Linked DNA regions of Homo sapiens: regions 1, 2, 3, 4, 5 and 7 are each linked to region 6. Evidence: promoter capture Hi-C in 16 types of primary human blood cells and fetal thymus (Javierre and others, 2016). All regions are on one chromosome and are shown on one strand. The core of a region is centred on a gene start or on the middle of the fragment in contact, and the rest is flanking DNA. Distances in the headings are between cores, read along the strand shown.

Evidence for each region. Contacts are between HindIII fragments. The CHiCAGO score rates a contact against its expected background, and 5 or more counts as called.
Region 1: a contact is called between the fragment with the promoter of TERF2IP here and the fragment with the promoter of WWOX in region 6, in 15 of 17 cell types (naive CD4 T cells, total CD8 T cells, activated CD4 T cells and 12 more). The highest score is 35.6, in naive CD4 T cells.
Region 2: a fragment that was not itself captured here is called in contact with the fragment with the promoter of WWOX in region 6 in 1 of 17 cell types (total CD8 T cells); the score reaches 5.8 in total CD8 T cells.
Region 3: a contact is called between the fragment with the promoter of ADAT1 here and the fragment with the promoter of WWOX in region 6, in 1 of 17 cell types (monocytes). The highest score is 5.8, in monocytes.
Region 4: a fragment that was not itself captured here is called in contact with the fragment with the promoter of WWOX in region 6 in 7 of 17 cell types (total CD8 T cells, activated CD4 T cells, naive CD8 T cells and 4 more); the score reaches 9.6 in total CD8 T cells.
Region 5: a fragment that was not itself captured here is called in contact with the fragment with the promoter of WWOX in region 6 in 1 of 17 cell types (monocytes); the score reaches 6.1 in monocytes.
Region 7: a contact is called between a fragment that was not itself captured here and the fragment with the promoter of WWOX in region 6, in 3 of 17 cell types (total B cells, naive B cells and non-activated CD4 T cells). The highest score is 9.5, in total B cells.

What each region holds. Positions count from the first base shown.
Region 1 is chr16:75,645,855-75,649,416 of GRCh38, reverse strand. It overlaps TERF2IP (TERF2 interacting protein), which reads right to left and starts at 1,644. Exons shown (of 3, transcript NM_018975.4): 1 at 865-1,644. The coding sequence starts at 1,534. It overlaps KARS1 (lysyl-tRNA synthetase 1), which reads left to right and starts at 1,752. Exons shown (of 14, transcript NM_005548.3): 1 at 1,752-1,839. The coding sequence starts at 1,778. RefSeq lists enhancers at 1-722, 520-789, 723-1,680, 1,720-1,899 and a silencer at 1,100-1,219. The HindIII fragment of the contact is 3,802 bases long and covers 137-3,562 here.
Region 2 is chr16:80,660,382-80,664,213 of GRCh38, reverse strand. The region is part of intron 2 of CDYL2 (chromodomain Y like 2); the gene reads left to right. Among named protein-coding and RNA genes, the nearest start is that of LINC01227, 89 kb to the right of the region's middle. The HindIII fragment of the contact is 508 bases long and covers 2,117-2,624 here.
Region 3 is chr16:75,621,094-75,624,641 of GRCh38, reverse strand. ADAT1 (adenosine deaminase tRNA specific 1) reads left to right here and starts at 1,361. Exons shown (of 10, transcript NM_001324445.2): 1 at 1,361-2,239. RefSeq lists enhancers at 1,048-1,567, 1,447-1,686, 1,568-2,087, 2,088-2,607, 2,608-3,128 and a silencer at 3,197-3,491. The HindIII fragment of the contact is 8,287 bases long and covers 1-2,794 here.
Region 4 is chr16:80,555,014-80,558,712 of GRCh38, reverse strand. The region is part of intron 1 of DYNLRB2-AS1 (DYNLRB2 antisense RNA 1); the gene reads left to right. Among named protein-coding and RNA genes, the nearest start is that of DYNLRB2-AS1, 6.3 kb to the left of the region's middle. The HindIII fragment of the contact is 3,952 bases long and covers 177-3,699 here.
Region 5 is chr16:75,555,902-75,559,395 of GRCh38, reverse strand. TMEM231 (transmembrane protein 231) reads left to right here and starts at 3,144. Exons shown (of 7, transcript NM_001077418.3): 1 at 3,144-3,325; 2 at 3,423-3,494. The coding sequence starts at 3,187. RefSeq lists enhancers at 2,714-2,823, 2,854-2,933 and silencers at 2,974-3,083, 3,374-3,453. The HindIII fragment of the contact is 1,045 bases long and covers 1,310-2,354 here.
Region 6 is chr16:78,098,404-78,102,001 of GRCh38, reverse strand. It overlaps WWOX (WW domain containing oxidoreductase), which reads right to left and starts at 2,348. Exons shown (of 9, transcript NM_016373.4): 1 at 2,117-2,348. The coding sequence starts at 2,223. RefSeq lists an enhancer at 1,615-2,114. The HindIII fragment of the contact is 3,217 bases long and covers 1,079-3,598 here.
Region 7 is chr16:80,679,438-80,682,971 of GRCh38, reverse strand. All of the region lies in intron 2 of CDYL2 (chromodomain Y like 2), which reads left to right. Among named protein-coding and RNA genes, the nearest start is that of LINC01227, 110 kb to the right of the region's middle. The HindIII fragment of the contact is 708 bases long and covers 1,559-2,266 here.

The DNA.
Region 1 (3,562 bases), core at 395-2,894, 2.5 Mb after region 6:
ACTCTCCGCCACGGCCGGCTAATTTTTGTATTTTTAGTAGGGGCGGCATTTCGCCATGTTGGTCAGGCTCGTCTCGATCTCCTTACCTCAGGTGATCCGCCCGCCTCGGCCTCCCAAAGTGCTGGGATTACAAGCTTGAGCCGCCGCGCCCGGCCAAGAGAGAATTTTCTATATACTTTTTGTAACTTTTGAATATAGAACCATGTCAATATTCTAGTCAATGGTAAAGTAAATTAAAACTAGACCAAGAAGCTGGGTGTGATGGCTCACGCCTGTAATCCCAACACTTTGGGACACCGAGACGGGAGGATCGCTTGAGCCCAAGAGTTCGAGACCTGTCAGGGCAACACAACGAGACCCCCATCTCTACAACAATTTTTTTTTTAATTTAGCGGGACGTGGTGGCGCGGGAGTGTAGTTCCAGCTACTTGGGAGGCTGAAGCCGGAGATTCGCTTGAGCCCAGGAGGTCCAGGATGCAGTAGGTCGTGATCGCGCGGCTGCATCACAGCCTGGGCGACGGAGCGAGCCCCCACTCAAAAATTAAAAAATAAAAACGACGAGAGGCCAGACGTGGTGGCTCACTCCTGTAATCCCAACACTTTGGGTGGCCGAGGCAGGAGGATCGCTTGAGCTCAGGAGTTCAGACCAGCTTAGGTAACAGAGACCCATCGCAAAAAAAGAACAATAATAAACAACAAGGGAGCGAGAAGGCAAGAAAATGGTGCAAATTTACCCGGATGTCAACAGGGGGCGGGGCCAAGCGCTGCTACCGAAGATGCCAAGATGGACGCCAGGCAGCCAGGAGAAAGATCCCAACCCCACCCGCGCAGATATCCGCGAGGCCCCGCGCTCAGCCTCCTCACCCCCGCTATCCGCGGCCTCCGGGTCCTCCTCCGCCTTCCGCTTGAGCTTCTGGGAGGAGGGGCTCACCGGCGCGTCCCCCAGCAGGTACTTATGCTCCTGGCCCCGCAGGTGCTTGAGGTAGCGGTCCTTCAGGGACTGCCACGAGTGCTGCGTGAGCGAGCTCTTCTCCATCGCTTTCCACAAGGCGTTACCGGTGACGGAGCTGGGCGAGCGGGCATTTTCCTTCACGTAGGTAAGGATGGCTACGTCGTCCGCATCCGTGAAGGCGATCCGCCCGGCGTGCCGCTGCGGCTCCGGCTCCGCGGCGCCCTCGGCCAGGGCCCCGGGCTTTGCTTCCGAGCCGGTGTCCGCCGCCGAGGCGGGGCCCAGCCGATAGGCCTCCAGCTCCAGCCTCTCGTTGCGCTCCACGCAGTCCAGGATGTACTGCGTGGAGATGAAATCACCCGAGGCCTCGGCCAGCGCCTCCCCGGGCTGGGCCAGCAGCACGGCCCCGGGCTCCTGCACTCGGCACACGGTGCCGCCGCCGTGCAGGATGAGCGTCGACAGCCGACGCTTGGCCGGGCTGGGCCGCACGTAGAAGGACATGGAGCTGCCGTCGTCCCTCACGAACAGAGTCGAGGAATGGGTGGGCCCGTTGGGGTCTTTGCCCAAATCCATCGCCTCCGCCATGTCTGACGCCGAGCACTACTAGAAGAGCTACCCCCTCGCGAGCGCCTGGCACACAGAGCTCAACTGACTGAGCTGTCACCGCAGACGCCTCTGCCGCGAAGCGCAGCACTGGGCCTGCGCAGCAGCAGCCGCGGCGCATCGAGAGTGCCCGCCCCCTCTCCCCCGGAAGAGGTGGGGCTTCGCACCTTGACCTGGAAATTAACGTACTATCCTCCTTACTTTTGGGTCGGGCCCTCCGGGAAGATGGCGGCCGTGCAGGCGGCCGAGGTGAAAGTGGATGGCAGCGAGCCGAAACTGAGCAAGAAGTGAGTGTCGCTGCGAGTCTTTAAAGCCTTTGCGGTAGGAGAGTCTGGGCTGGGAAGCGCCGCGAGGTTCCCACCAAGGCTGCTGTGCCGGGGCCTTCTTGCCGGCTCTCGTGGGTACGCACATGCTGAGACGTGGTGGCTGCGCCCTGCAGACCACGTACCCCGGGATACCCCGGGCACGCCGGCTCCCCGTTCCCAGCTGGCACCGGCGGGATGCTCCCTATCATACTCCTAGAGTTAAGAGACTGTGGAGGAGGAACTAGGACGAGAACTAAGAGTTATCAGAAAAGAAAAGCGAAACTTCCTGCTTAGCTTCATCCTCCTTTCTGAGAAATGCATTCTTTTGTTGAGCCACTCAGTAAACGTGGAAGTTGGAGAAATGTTAAATACCCTAGCTTTTCAGAAAGACCTTCAAAATTTTCTGGGCCTCACTAAGGTCATTCTGAACGTTATGTATTAAAAGGGATCAGTTCTAAAACTGTCATGCATCTACCCGTATGGGTTATTCAGTAGATACCTGTGAGTATTAAGTGATCAACGTCTAACAGTAGAGACCATCTTAATTCAGCCTGATATCTTTGTTAACCACTCCCAAATCCCTGGAGTATGTAGGTTAACATAGATAAGTCAGGATTAGCCACCCTTTAACTGGCTGTCTTATATTCTCATTAGCGTTCCCCATTTGAACCACAGAACACAGGTAATTGAGTGTTTTATCATTGCTAGGAAGATGGTACATAGTACCATTCCAGAGGCATACGAGAGGGCTTAATCCCCGTGGCGCGCACTTGTTATCCCAGCTACTCGGGAGACTGAGGCAGGAGAATCGCTTTAACCCAGGAGGCGGAGGTTGCAGTGTGCTGAAGTCGTGCCACTGCACTCCAGCCTGGGAGACTTGAGGTAGTGGTCCTTCAGGGACTGCCAGAAGTGCTGCGTGAGCGAGCCCTTCTCCATCGCTTTCCCCAAGGAGTTACTGAGACGGAGCCAGACCCTGAATGAAAAAGAAAAGAGAAATGATGTTTCTTTTTTTTTTTTTTTAAGATGGAGTCTCGCTCTGTCGCCAGGCTGGAGTGCAGTGGCGCGATCTCAGCTCACTGCAACCTTCGCTGCCAGGGTTCAAGCGATTCTCCTGCCTCAGCCTCCCGAGTAGCTGGGATTACAGGCGTGTGCCACCATGGCTGGCCAATTTTTGTATTTTTAGTAGAGACAGGGTTTCACCATGTTGGGCAGGATGGTCTCAATCTCGTTACCTTGTGATCCGCCCACCTTGGCCTCCCAAAGTGCTGGGATGACAGGCGTGAGCCTGAGCCACCACCCCTGGCCTGATGTTTCCTTTTGTGTCCCTGGCTTTGTGCTTCAAATATCTTAGAAAAAGTATAAGAGAAATTGTCGAAGTTTATAGTTGGGTAGGACCTTAATATATTGTCCTTTATTAGAGCAATCCGATGGACTTCCATAAAAGTTTGGAACCTGGTCTTTGGACTGCTACCTTAGAGAAAATTGACTTGACTTTATTAAGTCAAATTTAATTGAATGTGGTATATCTGTGATATACGATCCTAAAGTTTAGTTCATTCTTTCAAACCACCTATGATAATCAATTACATTGAATTGAACTTTAGGACTGTATATCACAGGTGAAAGCACGGTTTCCAGTTCAGAGTGTGTTTTTAGGTAAACGGAAAAAACTGGTTAATTCCTCTTTACTGACTTTTTTTTTTTT
Region 2 (3,832 bases), core at 1,121-3,620, 2.6 Mb before region 6:
TGTTTATGGGGCAAGAGTGGGAGTTAAGGCCAGAAAACAGGATGAGGCCAGACGATGGAGGCATGTGAACTTTTGAGCAGGGGAGTTGCAAGAAAAGGTGATAAAAATGAATTTTAAAGGAAATCACTTTATACTTTGATACCCTACAGAATATTTTGCCACATACCAGGATCCTGGCATAATAGAGCTTTTGGAGTTAGCATGGCCTTGGAGGGTTTTAATGCAGGAGACATGATTTGATTTGTAGAAAAAGTTCCTTTTAATCAGGTTAGTTTTGTATTTTGAATTCATGCTTTACACTGCTGAATGCTTTAAACATTTAGGCGGGGCATAGTGGCTCACACCTCTAATCCCAGCACTTTGGGAGGCCAAGGTGGTGGATTGCCTGAGCTCAGGAATTCGAGACCAGTCTGGGCAACATGGTGAAACCCTGTCTCTACTAGAAATACAAAAATTAGCTGGGTGTGGTGGTGGGTGCCTGTAATTCTAGCTACTTGGGAAGCTGAGGCAGGAGAATCACTTGAACCCAGGATGCGGAGGTTGCAGTGAGCCAAGATCATGCCACTGCACTCCAGCCTGGGCAAGAAGAATGAAACTCTGTCTCAAAAGAAAAAAAAAATTTAGACATCTGACAGTGAACATCATAAGATTACTTAGAGGTGTTGGATGTAGTGATTAGATAATCTGAGAACCTAAACTTTCTTAAAATTCGAAGTGTATGGATTTTATCTGGCATAATTTTAACATGCCAGATGACAGTTAACTGTGGCTAAGATTTTTTTTTTTCTTGAATGCACCTGTGAATTTGAGCCCTGCTATTGCATTCAGGTCCTGAGAGCAAGGATTCTGTACATGGGACTAGGGGCTTTTGGTTCCACTCAACTGTAGAACTGATGAGTCTTCTCTTTTATTTAACTCTCCCCTCCACCTCACCTCCTGACATGATTGATGACCGGAAGTGCTCAAGCTGAACTCCCCCTGGGTTGGTCTGTTCTCTCTGTTAATTGTATCTGCTCCCCAAGATGATAAGAGTGATTGGAACACTGGGGAGAATGGACTGGAAGGAAAGTGCTTTGCACCTGTGTCTTTTAGGGGGCTAGAAGGAGACCCCCAACACCACAATTTTTTTATCCTATCTTCCAGCCTCTTGCTTTTTTCCCCTATGTCTTTTGATCAAGAGGTAAGAACTTCTGTAGGTCCTCCATTGTAAGTCTAGTGTTTATTCATTTATTCACTCATTCATTTATTCAACAAAGAATGACTTGTGTCGTTCTTTGTGCTGGGCCTCCGCTGGTTCTGAAGGTATATGAATAACTAAAACAGCCCTTGCCTTTAAGAATCCATCTGGTGGTGAGGAGGGAGCCAGACATTTGAGAAAATCCTTGTCAAGATGTGGAAGGTATCCATGATGATTTTCCTACAGTGTGATTCCCTTCACTGTCCAGTACGGTAGCCATCAGCCACAGGTGGTTAGAGTTATATTTCAATTAGTTAAAATTAAAAAATTAAAATTTCAATAGCCATATGTGGATTCCACCTACTGTATTAGACAATGCAGATATTGAACATTTTCATCATTGCAGGAAGTTCTGAATCAGACTGTAAGCTCTTTGAAGGCAGATCCATGTCTGGTTCTGCCCATCCGTATACCCCAGGTGCTAAGCATCTGGTGAACACTCACTAAGTATGTACTGAATGAACATGGGAGAGGATAATAAGGAGAGTAAAAGAAGGGTGTACAAACAACCAGAAGAGAGATGCACTGCTCTGGAAGAATGTGCAGAAGAGATATCCCTGGAGCTCCATCAAAAAGTAGGGGACTTTTAGCAAGTGGGGAAGGGAGGAAGGGTGCTTTCTCCAGGAGGGAGAATGACTCTGGTCTCACTAACTTCCTTCTGTGTTCTGATGTCTCAAGCCACACAAGGTGTTACTATTTTGTTTGCAATGGAAGGAAAATTCATAGCACTCACGCTGTGTTCTCTCCTTGGGTGTCTTTGAGAGGTGGGATCTCACTCAGAGCGCCAGATGTGATATAAATACGAGTTAGTCATCTAGGTGTGAGATCAACTGGATTGCAGAAAACAAGTGTTTTCACGTATGAGGCCAATACAAAGCTTTGCAAGCATGTTTGACACATGGAGACTTCATGATCTGTGAGTGAGGTGAATACGGAATGCACCACTAGGAACATACTAGGAACATTATTAAGAATTTGGCGTGGGGTATGTTGTGATTGCTGGAGTGAGTTCCCCCACCTGATTGTTTGCTCATGCAGTCATTGGATGAACACTGGGTTAAGCATGCGGTGTCCTCTAGGCACTGCGCTCTGTGTTGCAGACACACAGGTGAATACATCTCAGGCTTATCCCTCAAGAGGCCACAGTCTGGTAGGGTCTTCAAGCAGGTGTATGGATGATGATAACATAGTGAAATGAGCTCTGCTTGGTAAAGCATCACATGACACAGGAATCAGATGTGGCATCCACATTTTCTTTCCTCCTTTGTTCAGCAAAGACTAGGCTCTGGAAAACAAAAGCAGAACATCCATCAGAGCCAACACCATGAAGAGGGCCTGAGACCAGGGCTAGTTTCAGTGTCTTGATGCTCGAATCCAGCATCAAGCTTGGTCAAGATGCTGGAGTTTGACCCTCATGCTGGCACTTCCCAGTGGCATGGCCTTGGGTTTTGGTTTTCTCATCCTTAAAATGGGGATGTAAACAGTGTCCTACAGGGTCGTGATGAGGATGGAATGAGACAACCTGTGTGAATCCCATAGTAGGCACTCAGCAACTTGTGAGTATTGCATAGTTGAGAGAAAGGACTCTGGGGAATATGCCAAAGTGACACTTGGAGTCTCCATTTCACACTGTTGTGGGGGCAGGTGTAGATCACTTCTACTCCAGCTGCCCATAATAATCAAGGAGCCACCCTGGTTTCTGAGGATGGCTGTGTTAAGTGAGGAACCAGAATGGATAATGTATCCCTCAATTGGGGATAGCATCCTTCAGCGATCTGTCTAAACTTTTCCTCCCTTCCTCCAGGCCTGAAGGGAATGTGGTGGTGTTCTGTACCTGGGGTTTGAAATGTTCTTGGTGGAGAACTTGGACATGGTTCCTGTGCCCTGCCAGGAGTGGCTGTGTTTTCTGAAAACTTATTTGCATGGTAGAAGTGCCCTACGGTCTGTCCTTGTCTGTCTCAGGCTCTGTGGCCTCACCCCAACCCCAGCCCTCCACTTCCTGCCCTCTCAGACAGCTTACCCCTAGCTCAGGGGCAGCTGCCCCTGTATCTTTAATGACAAGTTTCTATCTTTCCTTCTGTGTCTTGCACACTGCAGTGAATTCCCTGACACCTTTTGTTGCTGCATGTAGACCACTGTGCACCATTTCTTGATTCCCCTGGGATCCTTCTGGCATTTCTCTATTGATTGGGCAGTTTTTCTTCCCCTCTTTGCTGAGTTGAGATCCCTCTTTCTGTCTCAGAGTTTCTCCTCAGGAAATCTTACACACATCTTTATTATTTTATCCAGTGTGATTATCTCTGTCTTTTAATATGAGTTTAATATGTTCACAGAATAATGTAATTATTGAGATATTTGGATTATTTCTCCTATTTTAGGTAGCATTTTATTTTTACCCATTCTTGTTCTCTGTTCCCTCTCTCATTCCTATTTTCTGACCTTTTAATGCTTTTCACTGGATTGATACATTTTATACATTCCTTCTCCTTGGGCTGACTCAGAAGCTAGCTGTAGATTGTATTTTTAAACTTCAGCACACATACTAAAGTATGATCTTTTTCTAACAAATATGATGTCCTCTTACTGAATTTGGCA
Region 3 (3,548 bases), core at 112-2,611, 2.5 Mb after region 6:
AAAGGTTTTTAGACCTGTTCTGCCCACTACACTGTAGTAGTACTGTACTACAGTAGCCAGTAGCCACATGTGACTATCCAGCATCTGAAATGTGGCTGATCCAAATTGGGATGTATTCTAAGTGTAACACACACCAGATTTCTTAAACTTCGCATTAAAAACAGAACAGAACATAAGTATTTTTTAAAATATTGAGACTCGGCAGCCAGGTGCGGTGGCTCACGCCTGTAATCCAGCACTTTGGGAGGCCGAGGCGGGCAGATCACGAGGTCAGGAGATCGAGACCATCCTGGCTAACATGGTGAAACCCCGTATCTACTAAAAATACAAAAATTAGCCTGACGTGGTGGCAGGCACCTGTAGTCCCAGCTACTCGCGAGGCTGAGGCAGGAGAATGGCGTGAACCTGGGAGGCGGAGCTTGCAGTGAGCAGAGATTGCGCCACTGCACTCCAGCCTGGGTGACAGAGCGAGACTCCGTCTCAAAAAAAAAAAAAAAAAAAAAAAAAATATATATATATATATATATGAGACAGACAGACCGACCCCGGGCATCGTGACTCACGCCTGTAATCCCAGCACTCTGGGAGGTTGAGGCGGGCGGATCACTTGAGGTCAGGAGTTCGAGACCAGCCTGGTAACATGGCGAAACCCCGTCTCTACTAAAAATAACAAAAATGAGCCGGGTGTGATGGCGGGCGCCTGTAATCCCAGCTACTTGGGAGGCTGAGGCAGGAGAATCGCTTGAAGCCAGGAGACGGAGGTTGCAGTGCGCCGAAATTGCGCCGCTTCCAGCCTGGGCGACAAAGCGAGACTCCATCTCAAAAAATTTTTTGATTATATGTTGAAATAATACTATTTGGGATGTATGGGTTAAATAAAATATATATGATTGTTTCTATTTTGACTTTTAATGAGGCTACTGGAAATTTTTAAATTACGTATATGGTTCGAATTATATATCTATTGGACAGTGATGTTACAGATAGAAATACAGCATAGTCAGGAGAATCGCTTGAACCGGGAGGCGAAGGTTGCAGTGAGCCGAGATCGCGCCTCTACACTCCAGCCTGAGCAACAGAGCAAGACTCCGTCTCAAAAAAAAAAAAGAAAAAGAAAAAAATTCAGCCGAGTGCTGCAAGATACGTCATTCTAGTTGAAGGAATATCTAAGCCAACAAGCGGCTCCCATCATCCGGTTTCACGCCTCTCTAAGACGCAGCCAGGGCTGCGGGACTTGAAGCGCGGGAATCTCGGCCCTGGCACCGACTCCCCGGAAAAACTACAGGGCCCGGCATGCACTGCGCGCCTCTGGGAGCGGGAGCCGAAAGGAACCGGCGCTTTGTGACGTCACGTCCGCCTTACCGGCGGATTAAGCTCGCTTTCTTCTAGGCGCGTTTCCTGAAGGTGGGAGGGGAGCGTCCGCGAGGCGCTGGGGCGACGGGGCAGGTTTATCCGGGCTAACTTTGCCGAGTCTGTTTTTGAGGGAAGAGGTTGTGAGGATCGTATCTTCCGGGACGCGTTTCACGTGGGAAGGCGCTCCACGCCTGGAACTGTCAGCAGCCGGCGCCTGAAGAGCTCCTGGCGCGGGGCCTCTGGCCTGGCAGCCGCAGGACCCAATGGATCAGGCGCTCACGCTGTTCTCACTGCATGGCTTCAGTGCCTTGCCTGGCACCTCCTATCCTGTAACTGGCCGACTCGGGGTCCCACCCAGGCTTCTCCAGCGGCCGGGAAGGGGCTCTGCTTCCGGAAGTGTTTAGGAAGGGAGCCAGCGTAAACCAGAGTCCCTTCCTCCAAGCATCGCTGAAGCCTTTTCTCCCCTGGCAGCCGACTTCCTTTTCTTTGGAAAGGACGTCAGTTTTTTTAGCTTGTTGAAACTGTTCAGAGATGCGGTCTTGTGGGCAAATAAATGCCTGTTTAGCTGAGCTGTTATTTTCAGCTAAGAAGTTCTTCAAGTTTTCAAGATCTAGGAGGGGGTGTAGGCTCGAATTATAATGGACCCAGTGTAGCAAAACATTTATTCATTTAAACAATTGTGCATGCTCATTCAGACGCACTACCTGAGTGAGATGATGCCGTTCTGGGCTGCTTCATCTTAAAGAGAGTCACTGTTTCTTCTGGCAACTTCTACCTGCCTTGCCTATCGAGGTTTGTGAATTGCACCTCTGGTTTAATTTCAGGTCGATGGCCAGGTGGTCTTCATAAACTATACTGCCTTGTGATGCCTCCCTAGAAATGAGAGGTGAGTCCCTTCCAAACGAGGATTCTAGGATCTCATGCTTTCTTTTCTTGACAAGGCTTGCCCTGGCCCTCTGACTTTCAAGTCACAGGGTCTCACTTCCTGCAGATTTTTGTTTTAAATCACTGTGGTCTGATTTACCAGTAGCATTCACTACAGTAGCGAGCCTGCACGTTGCGCTGCAGGGGATTCATAACAATACCATCTTTCAAAAGCTGCATGCACTGGAGCTCAGGAAAGCCTTTTTTGTTTTTTTGAGAGGGAGTCTCGCTCTGTCACCCAGCCTGGAGTGCAGTGGCACAATCTCGGCTCATTGCGACCTCCGCCTCCCGGGTTCAAGCGATTCTCCTGCCTCAGCCTCCCGAGTAGCTGGGACTACAGGCACGCGCCATCACGCCCGGCTAATTTTTTTGTATTTTCAGTAGAGACAGGGTTTCACCACGTTGGCCAGGCTGGCCTCGAACTCCTGACCTCAGGTGAGCCACCGCGCCCGGCCTTCAGTTTGGTTTTACAGTGCTTAGCTATGTCTATCACAAGCTCATCTTCTACTGGGAAGCTTTTTGTATAATTGAGTCCAAATGAGATCAGGATGTGCCTAGTGAGCATTGATAGGGCCAAGAGTGAGAGATTTCCCTGCAAAGTATCCTAGGGATCTGCTTGATGGTTTTTTAATTCATGGCTTTCTATGCCCATTACAGCCCTCCCCCTTTCACCCCCACCACCAGGTAGCTCAAGGCAAATTAACCAGGAAAATCATCAAATGTTATTTTTTGTAATAGTAATCACAGTTGACCTTAATTATGCTCAACATAGTAGCAATTGCTTTTTATAAGTATTACTTATTTAACCCTCACAGTAACCCTAAGTATTATTTAATCTTCACAATAATCTAAATAGGTTAGATACTATTGTTATCACTATTTTGACAGATGAGGAAACAGACCCAGCAAGGTTAAGTAGTCTATTCAGCATCACAGTTAATTTGTGGCAAAGCCAAAATTAGAACCCAGAAAGGGTGAATCCAAAGTCCACACCCTTAAGTAGAGCTCTATGAGAACACGTAACTGCTGAGAAACATTTCAGTGGGGATTTACTAGAGGGCGGTAGAGAAACACTCTGCTGTAGGGGAAAGGAGAAAAATAAAATGCCTGGAAAAAGAAGACAGATAAGAACATCTGTCCAGAAAGATAAACCTTATACAGTGAGGGTCTGCCCAAAGCAAGTGAGTCTGCAACCCTTTACATGCCGTTTCCAGTGAAAACTGGAGTAGTGAGGACATTTCCTTCTCGTGTCCTTTAATGTTGAGTAGAGG
Region 4 (3,699 bases), core at 903-3,402, 2.5 Mb before region 6:
ATTACCTTGGTGGACCTTTTTTGCAACCAATCTTGTGATCCAGGGAGCAGTGTTCCTAAAGTAGGAAAATAGGATGGGGATAAACATTGATCATTTAACCCTCAGACACTGGGCACCCACCATGTGCTAGATTTTTCTGCCAGGTACTGGGATAAGAATAAGGCAATGCAGAAGCTTAATGGACTGTCAAAAGCACAACAAGGCCAGGCGTGGTCGCTCACGCCTGTAATCCCACCACTTTGGGAGGCCGAGGCGGGTGTATCACTAGGTCAGGAGATCGAGACCATCTTGGCTAACACGGTGAAACCCCGTCTCTACTAAAAATACAAAAAATTAGCCGGACGTGGTGGTGGGCGCCTGTAGTCCCAGCTACTCGGGAGGCTGAGGCAGGAGAATGGTGTGAACCCAGGAGGCGGAGCTTGCAGTGAGCTGAGATCGCGCCACTGCACTCCAGCCTGGGTGGCAGAGCGAGACTCCGTCTCAAAAAAAAAAAAAAAAAAAAAAAAAAAGCACAACCAATTCACCTTCTCTTGATTGTTGAGTCAATGTAGTTAGTCAATACAGAACAGAAAATCAGTCTGATGGATTGAATTAGTCAACCAATCTAGACAAAATAGAAAAGCTGGCTATATGTATAGGCAGAATGGGGACAGGGGAAGAAGGAATGTTTCAAACTGGTTATAAGTATAGACAGTGGGAGGAGGATAAATCATAGAACAAACTAGTTTTATGTGTAGACATAATGGGATAAAGTGTAGGCTTGGTGAACACACAGAATAGTAGATGTATTCTCGATGGGAAAGTTAATCCTTTTGGCAATTCCAGATATGAGGATGTTCCATGAATGGAATGGTGATCTGAAATCCTGTTGATCCATATGGATGGTTGGTTGCTGGAGATCTGAGGGGCTTTGATGAAAAGATTAGGAGTAACTTCTCTGTCAGGTGAACCCCATCAGATATTGTTAAGTGTCAAAATTATGATATTGATTATATTTACAGTGATAACATAACAGCCATGGTGGTCATCTCTCAGCACTTATTGGTTCTCCAGATAGCATTGATGATGGTGATGATGATAATAGCAATAATTGTTGAACATCTACAAAATGTCAGATGCTTTCTATGATTTTTTTTTAGTCTCCTAACAACCTACAGTGCAGGATTCACGGCCAGTATTTTACAGGTGAGGATTCTGAGGTCAGAGAGGTTAATTTCCTTGCCAGCTGTCTGGTGAATATGCCATGTAAAGGAGTGGCTACCAGTGTGTGCTGGAGTCAAGTATTGGGGTTTGGGTGCCTCCTTTGACATTTAAGAGCTTGATTGACCTTGGGCAATCTGTGAAACTTTTCTATGCCTTGGTGTTCTTATCTGTAAAATGAGACTGTTGTGAGGATTTAATGTGCCTGTCACATAGTAAATGATCAACAAATGTTAGCTGTTGCCGCTGCTGTTCTTCTTGTTATTTTTACTATTGATGGCCGGGCTGTGAGCCAAAGACAGACCTGTCTGGCTATAAAAAAGTGTCCTTTCTTCTGTACCTCACTGCCTTCTGGAAACAGGGGAGAGTAGGAAGTCATGTTATTCCATACTGTACTTTATCCCTTTTTTCTAGTGTGTGGATCTCCACCACTCCAGACGCTCTCGGACACCTGGAGTGCTGCTTCGGAAATGCACCTGCCCAGAGTCCAGGTGGCCCATTCTTTTTGTAGCCAATGACAAAGGCAGATGCCACTCATCAGGTGGAAATAAACTAAAGTCCCTGCTCCCCAGTGAGAGTGACACCTCAGTGTCTCTCTGTCCCCCAGAGTCCACCTCCTGACAGGCCCATTAGTGCCCTGTCCTCCTGACTGGCCATATTGGAAGCTAGGGAGGGAGTGACCATGACCCCATTGCTCAGAGCCTCTGATTAATGCTCACTTCCTGAGCTGGCTCCGCTTCCTCCACTGTGTCTGATTAAAACAGCCAGGGGCGACCCAAATATAGCCCAAAATTGTTGGTTAAAGTCTTTTTGGTTTCAGGCAACAGAAACCTACTCTGGCAGTGTACACAAAATGGAAGACTTATTGTAAGACCTCAGGGCTGCCACATAGAATCCAAGTGCCAAAATGCAGCTGAGGACCAGAAAACTGCAGGGAGCCCCTGGAATGAACACTGTACCTCTCGTTCCATGTCACAATGCACAACTGCAGCATTCTTTTCTTCTCAGAACTGGTTTTTTCTGCTACTCCCATGTGGAGCACACGGCTACCCCCAGCACCTGTGTTTTCCTGCACAGGTCAAGCCACATGGAAATTTTCTCTCTGTCTTCCACATCTAAATACTAAGGAAACATCTCTCATTGGCCTCACCTGGACCACGTCTTTACCACTGACCAACCTGATGAAACTGCATTTGGGTATTACACATCAATATGAATTATGGTTGGGAATGTGGAAATGCTAACCAAATGAAAAGGAAAGGGATTACACAAAACTGTGCCCCACAGGATCACCACTCTGTAAACCTATTAATATTTACAATTAAAGATGAGAAGAGGCCGCAGTGAGATGCATTAAATAGCTTGTATTGTGGTAAACTTGTATTTTGCCACTATTGCTATTATTAATAACAGTAATTGGCATCTATACTGGCCTGTATAGTTCAGAATTCAAGGCTGCTGTGGGTGGACATTCTTCACATTTGTAGACAGGAAAACTGAGGTTCAAAGTTGTTGGCTCTGCTAGTAAGTCATAGAGTCAGGCCCCAGATGTCATGTTCTCTCAGCTGTATCGTATTGTGTCTCAAGTTGTAAAGTTGACCAAAGAGAGAGAATTTTAAAATCAATTCTGTTTGTGGCAGGAGTGTTCTAGGCTGGTGACATCTATAGAGGGAGTCTTGAAACCATATATGCTGAAGGGAAATACAGAATGTAGGTTTCCTGGGGTAAGAAGCCAGGAGGAAGTAAGAAGATTCAGTGTTCTCTTCTATGGGTTCAAGGAATGGCTGGGTGCACGGCTAACCCTCTATGTCAAATCTTGGACAAGAAACATACCAGAGAAGACTTTGAACCTTATGTAGTCCAAACTGCTCAGGGAATGCCTGAGTTTCCATTATTAGAGATGCTTTTATGTTAAGGGAGCCTTCTAGCCCTATGATTCTCAGGATTTGAGAGACCAACTTATATTTGTAAGTCCCCCATTAGAAGAGATTATACCTCTCTGAAAACTGTTATGCCCCACATATGATCCATGTTTTCCTGTGTTTTTGTTTGTTTGTTTTGTTTTGAGACAGAGTTTCACTCTTGTTGCCCAGGCTGGAGTGCAATGGTTCACTGCAACTTCTGCCTCCTTGGTTCAAGCAATTCTCCAGCCTCAGCCTCCTGAGTAGCTGGGATTATAGTCGCCTGCCACCACACCCAGCTAATTTTTGTATTTTTAGTAGAAACGGGGTTTTACCATGTTGGCAGGGCTGGTAACTCCTGACCTCAGGTGATCCATCTGCCTCGGCCTCCCAAAGTGCTGGGATTACAGGCATGAGATACCGCGCCCGGCCTTTCTTGTCTTTTTTTTTCAACAAAGAATATAAGACCAAATATTGGTTGAATGAATATCTATAGGCATTTCACCTACACGTGATAGTTTCCATTTCAAGGACATTACATTATTTTCTAACACGAAAAGAGTGGAGATATTTTGCCCCATATCAAACACAAATTGGG
Region 5 (3,494 bases), core at 583-3,082, 2.5 Mb after region 6:
GCTGGCTTCTTTTTAACTGCATCCTGTTTTATCCACAGGGTCTCTGTAACCTGTATCTTGTGCCATCCTTCTAGCTCATACTGTGACTAAGAATGCCTTACCTCCTGGGAAGACAGCTCAGTAGGTCCCAGCCTTATTTTACTTAGCCCCTATTCGAGATGGAGTTGCTTTGGTTCAAACACCTCTGACAAAAGTGCTAAGATGAGCCACTTCACCCAGCCTCAACAGCCTCTTGACTGGTCTCCCTGACTTCTGTTTTTCCTCACCCCTCACTCAATGACCCCATCCTGGTATACTGTAAACCTAAAATAAAATTCTAAGCTCCCAACCATCTGAATGGAACCCTTGTCTCAGCCAAGGGCATTCCAAAGTTAACCTGAAAAACTAGTCTGGCCATCATGGGAAGTGGGGAGTCAGACGTAACTCATTATACCCTCCTCTTTTTGGAATTCAGACCCAGCTGACCAGTATTAGCATCAACACATAGATCTTAAGACTGATATTAATAGAACAGACTCTTAAAGTCTGATAAGAAACATTTACAATCTGTTCTCTCTGAAGCCTGGAGGCTTCATCTGCATGATAAAACATTAGACTCCACAACCCCTTATTGTTTTTTGTTTTTGTTTTTTTTTTGAAATGGAGTCTCACTTTGTCACCCAGGCTGAAGTGCAGTGGTATGATCTCGGCTCACTGCAGCTGCTGCCTCCCGGGTTAAAGCAATTCTCCTGCCTCAGCCTCCCAAGTAGCTGGGATTACAGGTGGACACCGCCAGATGCAGCTAATGTTTTTTTTTTTAATACATATTTTTGGTAGAGACAGGGTTTCACCATGTTGGCCAGGCTGGTCTTGAACTCCTGACCTCAAGTGATCTGCCTGCCTTGGCCTCCCAAAGTGTTGGGATTACAGGCGTGAGCCACTGTGCCCCGCCCACAAACCCACACATTCCTTTCTATTGATTCCAGGTCTTTAGATAATAACCAGTTGACAATTGGAAAAATCTCTGAATCTGCCAATTCTGTGGTCTGGAAGCCCCACCCCACCTCCACTTGTCTCATCTTTCAGTACTGAACCAATGTACATCTTACACGTATTGATTGATGTCTTATGTCTCCCTAAATGTATAAACTCAAGTTATACCCTATCCACCTTGGGCGTATGTCATCAGGACCTCCTGAGGCTGTGTCACAGGCATGTCCTTAACCTTGGCAAAATAAATTTCTACGTTGATTGAGACTTGTCTCAGATACATTTTGGTTTACACTACTGACATGCTGTCATTAGAGTGACTTTTCCAAATCACAAAGCTTATCATGTCTTTCCACTTAAATGTCATTTTACTGACCCTTTAACAAATTTACTTATATTTAAATATTTTGTATTTATTTTTTTAGAGACAAGGTCTCCTTCTGTCTCCCAGCCTGGAGTGCAGTAGTGCATTCATGGCTCACTGCAGCCTCCTGGGCTCAAGCCTTCCTCCTGCCCAGGCCTCCCGAGTAGCTGGACCTACAGGCATGAGCCACTGTGCTCAGCCACTCAGGACCTTTTTGTTGTTGTTGTTGTTGTTTGAGATGGAGTCTCGCTGCCACCCAGGCTGGAGTCCAATGTGTGATCTCCGCTCACTGTAATCTGTGCCTCCCGGGTTCAAGCGATTCTCCTGCCTCAGCCTCCAGAGTAGCTGGGATTACAGGTGCCCATCACCATGCCTGGCTAATTTTTGTATTTTTAGTAGAGATGAGGGTTCACCATGTTGGCCAGGCTGGTCTTGAACCCCTGACCTCAGGTGATCCGCCCACCTTGGCCTCCCAAAGTGTTGGGATTACAGGCGTGAGCCACCGTGCCCAGCCATTCAGGGCCATTTGATGAAGAAATTGGCTGTGGACCATAGATTTTTTTAAAAAGTCCTTCTACCATGTTAGAAATATTGGTTGGGGGTGGTGGCGGGGGGGTGTAGGCATTCAATTAAGCAATAAGCCAGTGATCTTTGGGGAGGACCATATATTCCTGTAAAACTCGCGGCTGAGCTGTACCCAACACAGGGTTAACGAAGTGCATCAGAGCTTTGTAGTAATTCCACTCTATCCGTGGAAGAGCCAGGGGATTTGTGTTTCCGTGTCTGTCTTGCATGGGAGCATAGTGGAAGCAACAGAAAATCTGGGGGCAAAAGCACCTGGCTTTGATCTCAGCCCAGGACCAGGTCCAGGACCACGGCCAGGCTTGTGACTGACTGGACTTCAGTAGGAACCACACTGGGGGTTAACAGATGACACAAAAGCAGGTGTTCGTTCTGTGCGGGAGACGCGCTAGGGGAGAAGAAAAGGCACACACACAGTACCTTTAAGGGTAAGCAAGCTTTATCCCACGTAAATGGCAATGCAGATATTATAATAAGCAAATTAATATAATAAGCAGATTGATATAATAAGCAAATTGCAATGGGAAGAGGAGAAGGAAAAAGACATATATATATATATATTTACACTCACCAGACTATGGAGGATTCACCTCCAGACTGGGAAGCAACGACCTGGGCTCCAGAGCCGGCCACTCGTCAGTGCACAGACGAGGAGAGGTCTCATGAAGCTTTTTGGCGTGGTCTGGGACCCTAGATCTTTTTGTAACATGTTGTCTAGCATGAGGCCCAGTCACGAGGGCCCTTTGCGACTGGGCTCAAGGAACACAAAAAGGTCAACTTGTTTTTGCGATTGTTGTTTTTCAATAACTGACGTATAGGAGTAGACTGAAATAGAGATTTCTCCGAAACAGCGCTGGATGAACGCCTCAAGGGGCTCCCACAACCTGTTTAGGGACTTGGTGACCATTGTTTGTGTCCATGTCAGTTGAAATTTAAATATTTAGTTCTTCCTCCTCAGTGTTCAAGTCAACTTTTATGGGCATCTTATTTTACACAAATGTTAACACAGACAACAGCCACGACTCTGGTCCACGGAAACGTTCTATCGCCGCCCAGCCTTTACGCAAACGTACACAGCTCGAAAAGCTAGGCCGACCGTCCCCGGCAGCGCCACGCCCGCTAACCCCGCCCCCGCCACTGGCTCCTTTCGGTGCGGCCTTGCTATTGGCTCCTTTCTGTGAGCCGTCGGTTGCCGTGGAGACCGAGGCGATGGCAACCAGGAGAAGCCAAACTTGGTCCCCCGGCTCGCGGAGTGCCTGCGAGCGGTGCTCATGGCGCTCTATGAGCTCTTCTCTCACCCGGTCGAGCGCAGTTACCGCGCGGGGCTCTGCTCCAAAGCCGCGCTGTTCCTGCTGCTGGCCGCTGCGCTCACGTACATCCCGCCGCTGCTGGTGGCCTTCCGGAGCCACGGTGAGCCTGCCCCGGCCGCTGTGCCACGAGGCTCCCCGGGCGCGCTCGGCCAGGGCCGGCCTCCCTAACCGCCTCCCTACCGCCCTCTTTAACTCAGGGTTTTGGCTGAAGCGGAGCAGCTACGAGGAGCAGCCGACCGTGCGCTTCCAACACCAGGTGCTGCTCGTGG
Region 6 (3,598 bases), core at 1,099-3,598:
TTACTGTGAGGGTGCCACCATATTCCCTCACGACCCCCCCAACTACCTACACACACCTCATGCCAGACACACTACTTCCTGGTATACACACTGCGTGGGGACGCTCCTACACATGTCACTGTGCCCTAATAAGATTGGGTCCTAAGGATGACAACTGGCTCTTATTTGCCTCGGTATAACCAGTGCCAGCCAAAGGCCTGTCACATAATACCTGTGTGTGTCTTGAATGAACTCATCAGAACTTGGTTGTTTTTCCTCTACCTTGCCACCAAAGGCAGCAGTGGTTCACATCCTTGCATAGATTAGAATCACCTGGGAGGGAAGATTTTACAACCTACCAAGGGAGAGGGGAGGGGCCAAACCAATTAAATCAGAAATTCTGGGCTGACGCAGTGGCTCCTGTCTGTAATGCCAACACTTTGGGGGGCCGAGGTGGGCGGATCACTTGAGGCCAGGAGTTGGAGACCAGCCGGGCCAACAGCGCGAAATTAGCCAGGCCTGGTGGCGGGCGCCTGTAATCCCAGCTATTCGGGAGGCTGAGACACGAGAATCGCTTGAACTCGGCATGCAGAGGTTGCAGTGAACCGAGATCGCACCACGGCACTCCAGTTTGGGCGACGGAGCGAGACCCTGTCTTTAAAAAAAAAAAAAAAAAGGCCGGGAGCGGTAGCTCACGCCTGTAATCCCAGCACTTTGAGAGGCCGAGGCGGGAGGATCACGAGGTCAGGAGATCGAGACCATCCTGGCTAACACGGTGAAACCCCGTCTCTACTAAAAACACAAAAACTTAGCCGGGCGTGGTGGCGGGCGCCTGTAGTCCCAGCTACTCGGGAGGCTGAGGCAGGAGAATGGCGTGAACCCGGGAGGCGGAGGCTGCAGTGAGCCGAGATCGCGCCGCTGCACTCCAGCCTGGGCGACAGAGCAAGACTCCGTCTCAAAAGAAAAAAAAAAAAGAAAAACCCTCTGGAAGTGGGGCCCAGAAAAAGGCTCTTACAAAAAAAGTTTCCCAGATGCTGAAAATCAGATTTACATCCATGTTTCTCAAAACCAGGTGATATTCCACCTCACCTGGAAAGCTTAAAAAAAGAGACTCCCAAAGTTGAGAGTCGGCTACAGTAGGTTCTCTATGGAGACCCAAAACGTGTATTTAGGACATTTCCTAGGTGATTCTAAGGTGCCGATATAAGAGGCACTGTCGTATCTTAAGAGCAATCAAGGAACGACAGTTAAGGAACAGAGAGTACCTACTAGACACGGTGCTATGTGCTTTACGCACAGTGCCTGAACTGACCCTCGTATCAACCCATTTTACAGGTGAAAAAACCAAGATTAAACGTTATTTCAATGGCCCAAGGTCACACAGTTAAAGATGAAGGCTCTGCTGGGGTTTCCAAAACTTTCCCAGGAAATGATAGTGAAGCTATCTAGGACTGCTACTAAAAAATACTCCTGGCTAGGCGCAGTGGCTCACGCCTGTAATCTCAATTCTGGAGGCTGAGGCAGGTGGCCTGCTTGAGCCCAGTAGTTCGAGACCAGCCTGGGCAACATGGTGCGACCCTAGTCTCTACAAATACTTAAAAAATTAGTCGGGCATAGTAGTGCACGCTTGTAGTCCCAGCCACTCAAGAGGCTGAGATGAGAGGATTGTCTGAACCCAGTAGGTAGAGGCTACAGTGGGCTATGATGGCACCCCTGCACTCCAGCCTGGATGACTGAGCAATACCGGTCTGGACAAAACAAAACAAAACACAACAAAACTCCTATCCCTGCAACCCAGAGCCTGCAGGAGGGAGCTGAGCATGTGCGCTTTTTAAAACATCTTTATTTTTTGGCGGGGATGAGGCCGCTTTGCCCTCGCCGCGCCGCGCAGTGCTGCATCCTGAACAGCAGAGGGCGCGCCGGGAAGCCACCAGGTGACCCCCGCTGGACCCGAGGCCCACCAAGGGGGCCGGCCCCTACTGGGAACCCTGGACCCTTTTCCCTGAAGCTCCTTAACAGTTACTTTCACTTTGCACCGCACGCGCTGCGCTGGAGTGCGCGTCCTCCCCGCGCAGGTGGCGTCCGTGGGCTGTGCAGGGTCCCAGGTGCGTCCGCGGCCCCACTGCGGCCCCCTTACTTGGCGTAGTAAACCCAGCCGTCCTTGGTGGTTCTCTCCTCCCAGCCCGGAGGCAGCTCGTCCTCACTGTCCGTGTCGTCCAGCCCCGCGTAGCGCAGCGCTGCCATGGCTGACTGTGGAGGCACCTGGCCCCCCTATCGCCCGCTGCCGGGTCCACTCGCTCAGGAACTCACTCCCGCTCCAAACGAGACCCGCGCGCGTCGGGGCCCGACCGCTCACGCCTGCGCACTGCGCCCTCCAGGGGCCGCTCCGCCGACCACGAAGCTGAAATCCAGTCTCCGCAATATCGCGACGGCCGGCGTCAAAGGGGCAGGGCCTGGAGAGGAAGGCGGTGAAAGTGCCTAAGAGATCGCGCTGCCGCCGGGCTAGACAGCAAAGCCGGAGAGCGCTCCGAGGCGCTAGAGATAGAGCGGAGCCTTGTCAGCCTCCCCGCCGCAGGGAAGGGGCGTGCGCATCCAGTTTCGGGCCAGGACTCCGCCCGTTGCTGGGCGACCCGTAATCACTTCCGCGTTGTTCTGGCCAATCCTGCAGGAGCCCGGCAATTGGATATGGGAAATGTAGTCCAGGTGGCGCCTGACCAAAAAGCGGCGCCCGACTAAAAAGCGGCGCCCATGCTGTTGTCCTGGGCTTCTGTCTCTCCTTGCCTTGGGGTCTCGTGAAAGTCCGTGATCACAAACCTTCCAGGGCTTGCCAGCATTCGTGCTGATTCACAACCTTTGTTTTGCATATGAACACAATGTTAAAATATAACCTGGAGAACTTAAAACTGCTGATTCCTGATTTCCTGGTTTTAGAGAACTTTCTTTCAGCCAAAACACATAATAGAGACTGTGATAATAGAGACTGTTGTTTAATAGAGACTCATGATAATAGAGACTGATGATAATAGAGACTGATTGATAATAGAGACTGTTGATAATAGAGACTGATGTTTACGGAGCACTTAATGTGCGGTCCAGGCCAGAAATGCACAGACATCACATGTAGCTGACACCTTTGTGTAGTGGGCACAACTCAGACAGGGTAGCTAGGCCGGGCTCAGTGGCTCATGCCTGTAATCCAAACACATTAGGAGGCTGAGGCAGGAGGATCACTTGAGGCCAGGAGTTTGAGAACAGCCTGGGCAACATCGCAAGACCCCTGTCTTTACCAAAAATAATTATTTTTTTAGTTTGCCGGGCGTGGTAGTGCACATCGGTAGTCCCAGCTACTCATTGAGGCTGAAGGGGGAGGATCACTTGAGCCCAAGAAGTCGAGGCTGCAGTGAGCTATGATCGGGCCACTGCACTCCAGCATGGACGACAGAGAGAGCTGCTGTCTTTAAAAAACTGCCTCACCTTTAGAGAATTTCCTTTAGTAAGTCTGGAATAGGTCCAGAATCTGGAAAGAAAGGGAGGGAGGGAGGGAGGGAGGGAGGAAGGAAGGAAGGAAGGAAGGAAGGAAGGAAGGAAGGAAGGAAGGAAGGAAGGAAGGAAAATAAAA
Region 7 (3,534 bases), core at 663-3,162, 2.6 Mb before region 6:
AGAGAGGAATTTCACCCAAACAGGATTTACTTAGCATCTTTGCCCCAGACTGACTCACGTTTCCGTCTCGGGATCCCTGACGCTGACGTGACTGTGCCTGTGAACATATGTAAAAGCTGTTTGTTTTAGAAATTCATCTCTCGGGGAGAAGTGGGCTCGTGTAAATGGGGCTTGGCATAAACACCCGTGTTTGATGTTGCTGTGACGGCTGCTGGCGGTGGCGGAGTTCCCTGTCTCAGGAAGGGTGGCGAGGGGAGATTTTGTGGCCCTTTGGGTGCAGGGGCAAGGCTCTGGCGGGGTTCCCTGCATTCCAGCTGTTAGCAGCTCCCTGCCCTGCTCATATGGGGCAATCCCAAGAGTAAAGCATGAGGGAGGAAGATTTGCTGACTGTAGCTGACAGTCTGCAGTGTGAAGGAGAGAAGCCAGACTCATAGAGGGGTCTACATGAGGGTGTGCCTCTTGTGCTGTGCAATCTTCTGCGGTGAGGCAGAGCTGCGAGCTCTGTGCTCTTCACCCTTCGGCTTTGCTGATGCCCCCTGGTCCATGACCTGGTGATAAGGCATGGTACCCCACAAGCAGGGAAAACAGGTGAGGGCCAACCTGTTGAGATCCGTTGATTGTCCTGTTAGCTCCAAAATGCTATTCTAGACCTTTCTTGTCTCTCTGATCTCTTATCTTCCTCATATTTGCCTGACGTTGTGTGTTCTCTACTCCCACTTGAGCCAATGCTGGCCTCTATTTTGTTCTGTTTTGTCTGTTTCAAAAGGGCCCTTTTGCTTAATCACATCCCATAGCACTGGTGCCCGTAAGGTTAAGGCACTGGTTCTCAGATTCTGCATGTATTAGATTATCTGGCAACTGATGAGAGATGCAGATCCCATGGAATCTGATTTCCTAAGTCTAGGGTGGAGCCCAGGAGATGGACTTGTTAACAAACTTCCTGGGTGACTCTACCGCATTTTGAGATGAGCTTTGTGGCCAAATGTGTGGGGGGTGGGACCTTGAAGTTTCACATCAGGTGTCAATTTAATTCAATTCAATACTGATTTTTTTTTATGACTTCCTAAGAGTTATTCACCATGCTGGGTGCTTGAAGTAGAGTAATGAAGAGATAGGTATGGACTTTTCCCTCTGAAACTTATAGCTTCCCTCTGAAACTTGCCAGGAAGTTGGAATGCCGGCCTCTGGCCCCATGCTGAGAAGGCGCCCGAGGCTGGCTCCATGGAAGGAGTAACACATATTACATACATGTGCATGGCTTCACCATACCCACAATGACGTCTTCTGTGGTCACTCGTGTGATAATTGTCCCAGCCACCATCAGCCTTTCACCTTCTAGTCAGAACTAGCTTGTTAGCCAGGTCTGGGGGAACTGGGAAGAGGAAAAGACTGAGAATCCTTGCTTGAGAGAGAAGGAGAGTGTTGAAGAGAGTGGTTTGAGGTTCCTGGACAAGACCCAAGACAGGGGATGCCGTGGTTCCAGAATTTTTCAGCAACAGGCCAGAGGTGTAGTCCAGCAAAACGTGTTTCCATGTGTGTTTTCAGCCAGAGGGAAGCTTTGCTGAAGCCAGTGTTCAGGCCCACGTAGCCCTGAATGTCCTCCTTCTACCCTCTTCCCTAACCTCACCTTCCCTTATCTGGACTAAAGGATCCAGTCTCCAGGGGCCCAAGGGTGAGCACTGGGGGTTTGCAGCACAAAGGAGGGCTCATCTTAGCCCAGCAGAAGGGGTTGGGGGATCCTGGCTGCAGTTGCACAGCATTTGTTTTGGGGGTGGGCTGTTGCTTTTTATATGGTTTTAGCTTCTCTTTGGTGAGTTAAGGTTCTGCATACAGAACAGCAACTTATGTAACATGTTACTCATTTACTGCTGACTTCCCTGATCTACTGTGGAACAAATGCTAAATTGGGGCTCCGGCGGGTGGTGTTTTGGTTTCAGACTGCGCTTTTTCCCCAGCAGTGTTTGTGGGGCGTGTGCAGCAGTTCTACACTGCTCTTGATTCTGAGTCTTCTCTGATAATGAGTACTGGCTTTGTGGTCCGGGGCCCATCTGCCTCAGTATCTCTTGGGGAGCTTGTTAAAACGGGCTGTATCCCAGTTGAATGAATCAGGATCTCAGGGGGCTGGAGGGGTGGGTTCTGCACGTTCATGCTGAATTGTAACAGCCACAGGTGTGTACAGGAGCTCCAGCAGATGTGTTTGGTCGTAAGAGATGGTTCATAGATCCATCTGTTGGTAGATCCATCTTTACTCCCTGGATTTGAAGCTTGTGAGAAGGAATGTGATCTGGTCCTTCAAAGTTTTAAAACCTGTCATAGTTTCTCTGCCTTGCTTGCAGTTTCTACTAGGCATCTCTCTCTTTTTTCTAAAACTACGCGAGTTTCATCGGTACAGAAAAGCTGGTGGGTTTGCTAACCCTTGCTGTGGTTCTGCCTTGGTGAACTGCTTAGCACTCGTCTAAACAGGCCAAAGCATCAGTGTTCTATGGATTCACACGAGCCTTTACTCTGTGAAACGTCCCTAACTAGGAGCCATCGTTTCTCTTTGAGCCCTAGAATAGCATAAAGACTTGCAGCGTTCTCCAAATTACCAGGAAGGTGATGAGCATCACTGTTGATGCCAGTCTTGTGGCCCCATGTCCACATTTCTGAAAGGACGTTTAAGATCCTTTCCTTGCATCTTGATGACTGTTGTCTGCTGCACAGACGTTGCATCTCACACATTGCATGATTCAGTGTTTGCAGAATTATCTCTACCATTGAACGAGTCATTCCACACAACACACACACGCAACATTTGCCATTTTCTCTCCATTGATCTTTTAAAATCGTCTCAGCTTTCACTTCTAGAACATTTGTTTATCTCTTCCTACTCACTCTTTCAACATGATTATCATTTTTCCCTTTATTGATTATAATGGATAACCATGTTTTAAAGGCAGTTGGAAACTAAGCGCAAGCAATGGGAAGTGGCCTATGGCTTTTGAGAATCTAGGGGCTCCCAAACATGGATCCGGCGTCAGAATCCCTTGGAGGGCATGTTGAAACACAGACTGTTGGGTGTACCTTCAGCATTCTGATTTAGTAGGTGTAGTGTGGAGCCTGAGAATCTGCACCTCCAGCAGAAGTTCCTAGATGCTGCTATTGGTCCAGTGAGCCCAGTTTCAGAACTACTGCTCTAGACTAATGAGCTCCAAGATGGCGGAGATGAAAATGCAGATGGTGTTGTGCCTGCCAGGTGGTGGTATTGAGGAAACTTGAAGTGCTTGTGCTCTGCACCTGGAGTTGGCATTCATAAGACTTTGTAAAGAGAAAGTTTGTGAAATGAAAAGCTGTAAGGTTGAAAGTTTTAGAGTATAAGTACTTCCCTGAGATGAGGCCTTGGAGTTTCCAAAGTACCTTGTGTGATCCTCATGGCAGTCGTGAGAGGTAGTTTTTCTACCCATTTTACAGAGGTGGAGACCGAGGTTACAAGTGTCCAGGTTGGAATTAGGAGAGAAACTCAGGCAATTTGACTGCAAATTTAACTATAGAGCT